Linked DNA regions of Homo sapiens: region 2 is linked to region 1. Evidence: promoter capture Hi-C in 16 types of primary human blood cells and fetal thymus (Javierre and others, 2016). All regions are on one chromosome and are shown on one strand. The core of a region is centred on a gene start or on the middle of the fragment in contact, and the rest is flanking DNA. Distances in the headings are between cores, read along the strand shown.

Region 1 (3,467 bases), core at 752-3,251:
CACTCAAACCTGTGTGTCACACACACACTCACACATACACGTATATCATATTATTCTCTATTCCCCTTATACTGCACTCAATCCTATGTGCCTTACACACACACACCCACACATACACGTATATCATATTATTCTCTATTCCCCTTATACTGCACTCAATCCTATGTGCCTTACACACACACACACACCCACAGATGTATATCAATATTCTCTATTCCTCTTACTCTACACTCAATCCTGTGTGCCTTTCACACGCACACCCGCACACACATATTATCATACACACACACACAAGTATATTATTCTCTATTCTCCTTTCCCTATTTTTCTTTATAGCACTTATCACCAACTGACACTATATGTTGTCCCTCTCCCTAATTAGAATGGCCGGACTTTGCTTTCTTCTCTTAAGCTCAGTGCCTAGAATTGTGCCAGTGCACAGACCCACATGCAGCCAATTCAGCCATCCTCCCTGCAGAATCTGAGGGGAGTGGTCATGTCGTCTCAGTTTGCAGCTTTAAAACAGCAGGAGCCACCAGCTAGCTCCTCCAGGCAGTCTAACCATTTTCCAGATGGTTCCCATCTTCAGAGGTCTTTCTGATGAGTTTCAAAACTTGTGCCCTTGCAGTTTCCACTCAGGCCTATTAGTTCTGCCCTGTGGGCCTACAGAGAACATGCCTTTCAGATACTTGAAGACAGCAATTATGACTCTCTCCAGCTGTTTACTGCTTTTCAAGTTAAACAGACCTCTCCTTCCATCATTGCTCAGGCATAATCCTCTGGGATGACAGAAAGAACATGTTATCTGGGGACAGGTAACCCAGATCTGAATCCAGACCTCACTCATAGTCACTGTGTAACCCTGAGCACATCACACCTGCCTAACAGGGCTCCTGTGAGGATTCCAGGGGGTCATATATATAAAGTGCTTAGCATAGTTGCTGCCTGACAGTGAAAGTTCAGTGGATGACATTGATGTTCATTGCTTTCCTGAAGAAAGTTCTGTCCAAATCCTAAAAGCAAAACAAATTTCCTGAACCCCATCAGGTCCGCTGCCTGCATGTAGAAAGAGGAGAGTAAAACCGATGCACACTGGACTCACCCAAAGGCGGAAAAGGACAAGGAACCCAAAAAGGAAGATCCAGTGGGCCCACAGGCAGCCCTCCTAATGGAGCCTGGGCAGTGCCCTCTTCTTTTTGTTGGAAAAACAGCATGAAATATTTTTTGCTTTGTTGTTTGAGGCTGGAGTCCAAGAAAGACCCAGAAATGGTTGATATGAAGGATTTGGAGCAGGAAAATAGGATACAAATTCAGAGTTAAGAGCTGGACAACGAGTTGGGTTATGAGGGCTTCCACCCCAGTCCGTTTCTTTCTTGCTCATGGTAGGACCCTAGACAATTCTTTTCCACTCTCAGCCTGCATTTTCTTAGCTGGGAAATGCCAATTCTAAGAGCTACTGGGATACAATTATATGCCACATGTGCGTTCACTCACTCAGTGCTTTTCAACACATGTTCACTGTATGCTCTGGGTGTACCAAAATGACAGCCTGTTCCTAACCTCAGGGGTCTCACTGTCTATTAAAAGTTTCCCTTAGGGTATCATTCTGAATGGGAGGAGGAACTAGAAAAACACTTAGTTCCAGTGTGTCATGATAAACACACAGAGAAAAAGAAAACAGCAGCTGTGAGAATGTAGGGGAGGGGGATAAATTCTGAAGGAGAGGGACAGGAAAGGCTTCTTGGAGAAGGGATCTGTTCTCTGGCCAGTGCAACAGCCTTGGAGAGGACTTGTACCTCCTCTGCTCGTGCCTTTCACCATCCCCAAGGATATCTAGAGCAGGACCCTGAACACCGGATAATCAGTTTATACTGCTGAGTGGCAGGCTGATGTTCTGGGTGGTGTAACATTCTGCCCTTCTCTAATTTTTTGTCTGTGAGTCAGCCTTGCCTAGGTCAATAAAATGCTGAGTGCACACCCAGCTTCCCCAGCACACTCAGAATGCTGCCAGATCATTTCTCACCCCTCTCAGGAGACATTAAACTCTCTGTCCTGGCCTTAGTTGTCCTTGTGGTCCTGGCTCAGACTGCCCCAGGTAAACAGAACCATGGAGAGAAGGGAAAAGGGAGTAAGGATGGGGTCCTAACCACAGAATCACTGGAAAATTGAACATGTGTAGAAGCAAGGAGAGCCCACAGGGATGGCTGAGATCTGATGAAAGGCTTATAATGAATATGCTCCCATAAGAAGGGCAGCCTGTCAGGCCTGACCATGGTGGTGGTTCTCATTAGGGAACCTGGAGAATATCTGCAGAGGCCAAGGTGTTTTATATGAAGTCCCTTCCATATGCAGAAGCAACCCCAACATCTCTAGTATCCTGAATGCCTCTGGCCCATATGTCAACAGTCTCATCCTGTGAGTCTCTCACTTCAACCCCACTTTCAGTTGATACTACCTCTTCTAATAATCAGTCTCATTACTTCACTTCTCCACTGTTGTTGGGCTTTGAGTGCTCCTTTAAAGCAGGCAGAAGAGGCAACTTGCTCTTGTCTTGGAATATATGGTGAAAAAGTTGTAAGTTGATGTTTGATATCTACAGGTTTATAAAAACAGGCTCACAGTATGGAGCTGGGGTTACAGCAGAAGATTTTGGCTTTCAAGTTGAACACGCTCAAAGCTCTCTAACAGTATAAACAGGCATCATGGCCAGGTGGTGAATAACTTTCTAATGGAAATGTTTTCCCCTTAGGCTTCCCAGGGGCTCTAAAGTTGATGATTTTTAATTCTGTGATTTCCTTTGGGTCGTTGCTGTTGGAAGTCACATCCTCTCTTGGAGCAGCTATTCAAGCTGAAAGCCTTTGCCAATCACTCAGTTGTTCTAGAAGCAAAAGAAGGTTATTCTGGGCTAACCCTGAGTTGGCTTGAGCATGCCTTATGTTCCAGCGAGGGCAAGTAGAATAGAGGGAGTTGCAGATGCAAGAGACATTTTGGAGAAAGAATCTACATATTGACTTATGAAATACTGGAAGAGAAAAGTGAGAGTCAATGTGACTGATTTTTTTCAGCCTGAACATTCTGGTAAAAGACAGAGAATTAGGAATTATCTCCCAGAAGAAGAGTTTGGGGAAAAGACAAGTGGAAAGAATCTGTAGTTTAGATTAAGATATAATGATCCCTCAAATGAATCCAATGTGCTGAGAAAACTGGGTTTGCAGTCTGCGTTGACTTAGAGTCACAGAAAATAAATCAGAGAAGGGCACAGTGTTAAACCCTCCCTGCACCCACCCCCCAACACACACACACACAAACACAACTTCAGCCTGCAGCTCAGAAATGTAAATTGGTCATCCATTGTTCAGGGTCTTGCTTTAAACAACCCCTGGGGCAAGCACCCCTAGAACAAACAATGCCTGGCACATAGTAGATGCTCAACAAATTGTGGTTAGATGAATAATGAATGGAGAGAG
Region 2 (3,154 bases), core at 549-3,048, 240 kb after region 1:
GACAGAGGAAGACCCTGTCTCTAAAAAAAAATAAAATAAAATAAAAGGGAAAAGTTCAGAATAGGTTTTATTTTTATCAAGCAGGAAATTGTTCTACCAGAAATTTCCCTTTGCCTCTTGCTACCCCAAACAAGACGGCTTCTATGAACGAGGGAGAAGTGGGTGAAGGATGTCAGATAGGCAACTTCGGTATTTGCCAGAGAACTCCTTCCATCCTCTTCCCAGTCCCACTGCGCTCCCTGGAGGTACTCACCATTAACAGTTTGGGATATATCCTGGATATTTTTCATTCCACTTACATATACATTGTAGAAAATAATTGGCCACTTTTCTTTCTTCCACCCTATCAGAATTGCAATTTTGCTCTGTTGTTCTCCTCTTATCTATGGAATCAAGAATAAATCCTGATTGCTTTACGCCAGAGATTAAAGGGGGACCTACAGTCCAGCTATGGCCAATGAAGTGTGATGAAAAGTTAACTGGAGGTTTCTAGGAAAAGCTTCTTTGCTCTTAGAAAAGAGCTTAATAAATAAATAAATAAATAAAAGAGCTGCAGCAGGAAGAGACCAGTCCCTTTTTGACAGGTCCCTGGAGTGTAGGAATGTAATACCTGGAACTGTAGACACCATCTTGCAATTATGATGGGATCTAGTCAGAGGATGACAAGGCAGAAAGATGGGGAGTACCTGAACCCTTGCTGATGAAGTCAAGCCTCTGAACACCAACCTTGGCGCTTCCCCATTTCTAGACTTACTGTTATGCAAATTTTCTTGAAGGATTTCTGGGCCAGGCACAGTGGCTCACGCCTGTAATCCCAGCATTTTGGGAGGCCGAGGTGGGTGGATCACCTGAGGTCAGGAGTTTGAGACCAGCCTGACCAACATGGCGAAACCCCGTCTCAACTAAAAATACAAAAATTAGCCAGGCGTGGTGGTGCGCACCTGTAGTCCCAGCTACTTGGGAGGCTGAGACGGGAGAATTGCTTGAACCCAGGAGGCAGAGGTTGCAGTGAGCCAAGATCACACCACTGCACTCCAACCTGGGCAATAGAGTGAGACTCTGGCTCAAAAAAAAAGAAAATTACGGGGATTTCTGTGCCAAAGTCTAAATCATCCATCTGATATGCATGTATGGGTTTGTTTCCTTTTTTCACGTAAGTGGGATTATAGCCATATGCATTAAGACCGAATTCCACTGCAAATCCAAAATAGCCGTGATAGAAACAGATAGAAGGGCACTTCTCTCTTATATAAATGAAGTCCACAAGCAGGCTGTCCAAGGGTGGCATGGCATTCCACAAGGCAGGAACTGTGCTTGCTTCTATCTTCTGGTTCCCTCATCTTCAGTACAATATGCTGCTCAAGCAGCAGCCATCATATTCACATTCCAGCCAGCAGGAAGCGGTAAGGAGTCAAAAAAGGCACAGCCTTTCAGAAGACACACACCTCTGATTACATCACGTTGGCCACAGCATAGTCACATGGCCTCACTTAATTGCATGGAAATTTAGGAAATGATTTTGTGATGTTTTTTGTTTTTGTATTTGTTTGGTTGGTTGGTTGGCTGGTTTTGTTTTTTTGAGATGGAGTTTCACTCTGTCACCCAGGCTGGAGTGCAGTGGCACCATCTCTGCTCACTGCCACCTCTGCCTCCCAGGTTCAAGTGATTCTCCTGCCTCAGCCTCCCGAGTAGCTGGGACTACAGGCAGACACCACCACGCCCGACTAATTTTTGTATTTTTAGTAGAGATGGGGTTTCACCATGTTGGTCAGGCTAGTCTCACACTCGTGGCCTCAATGATCCACCCGCCTCAGCCTCCCAAAGTGCTGGGATTATAGGTGTGAGCCACTGCTCCCAGCCAGGAAATGTATTGTATTCTAAATAGTCACATACCAGCTCAAAATCAGGGATTCTGTGTTTATGGAAGGAGGAAATAGATATTGGGGGACAAGTCAGAAAAAAAAAAAAAAGGAAAGACATTGAGAGATAACCAGCAATCAAGGGTCAACCAGTAATCTCTGCTACAATGCCGTACGTATCGGTTAATATGCTTTTTTCACTCAATGTGTACTGGCTTTCTATCCATGCTTTATTCTTATACATTTCCCTTGTTATTTGGGGGGTTATATTGTTCTTATTTTTCTATCTTCTTCAGATAGAAACCTCAATCATTTATTTGAGGCCTTTCTTCTTTTCCAATTTAGCATTGAAAGCTATAAATTGCCTTCCAACACTGTTCTAGATGCATCCCACAAATTTTGGTATGTTGTGCTTTTCATTATCATTCAGTTCAAAATATTTTCTAATCTCCCCTGTGATTTGTTCTGATTCCCATAGGTTATTCCAAAGTATGTTAATTTCAAAATATTTGGGGGTTTTCCATTTGTTTGTTTATTTCCACTGCAAATTTGAGACTTAATAATTCAACATATGGCCCATCTCGATGCATGTTTCATGTGCACCTGAAAATACTATGTATTCTGCCATTGTTGGGCATAATGTTCTAAATGCCAGTTAGGTCAAAGAGGTTGATAATGCTGTTCAAGTCTTCTCTATGCTTAGTGATTCTATGCCTACTTGTTTTATCAATTACTGAGAAAGGAGTGTTGTATGTGACTGTTTCTCCTTCCAGTCTGTCAGTTTTTCCTTTACCTTTTTCTTTTTCATGGCTGTACTACTTTTCTACAGTATGGATGTACCATAACATATTTTACCCATTGAGGGGCATTTAGGTTAGTGCAAATGTTTTGCCCTTCACAACAGTGTGACATTCAATATTTTTACATGTATAGAAGAGATTACCAAATTCAAATTTACTAGTCAAAGGGCACATACGTTTTACCTTTTGACACACCCTGCCAAATTGCCCTCCAAAGGGGCTGTTTTGTTTATATTCAGATGAATTGTGCCAAATTCCCTACTTTGTGACCCACATTAGATATTACCAGTCTCTTCTCATTTGACCTTTTATTGGGGACAAGATGAGAGAAAGTAGGAAGGAAGGTGTCTCATTGCCTATTTTGCTTTTCCCTAATTATAACAAAGTTGAGCTGTATTCTGCTCAATGACTGTGCCCTTTAGCTGCCCAAAACCACAGTGAAGCTTTGAAATTACAGCTTTTAAGGGCTGCATTAAATTCTGAGCCTAGACTATT

Evidence for each region. Contacts are between HindIII fragments. The CHiCAGO score rates a contact against its expected background, and 5 or more counts as called.
Region 2: a contact is called between a fragment that was not itself captured here and the fragment with the promoter of DEFB115 in region 1, in 1 of 17 cell types (erythroblasts). The highest score is 5.2, in erythroblasts.

What each region holds. Positions count from the first base shown.
Region 1 is chr20:31,255,663-31,259,129 of GRCh38, forward strand. It overlaps DEFB115 (defensin beta 115), which reads left to right and starts at 2,002. Exons shown (of 2, transcript NM_001037730.1): 1 at 2,002-2,095. The coding sequence starts at 2,002. The HindIII fragment of the contact is 8,626 bases long and covers 1-3,467 here.
Region 2 is chr20:31,492,914-31,496,067 of GRCh38, forward strand. No RefSeq gene overlaps it. Among named protein-coding and RNA genes, the nearest start is that of LINC00028, 8.7 kb to the left of the region's middle. The HindIII fragment of the contact is 2,603 bases long and covers 498-3,100 here.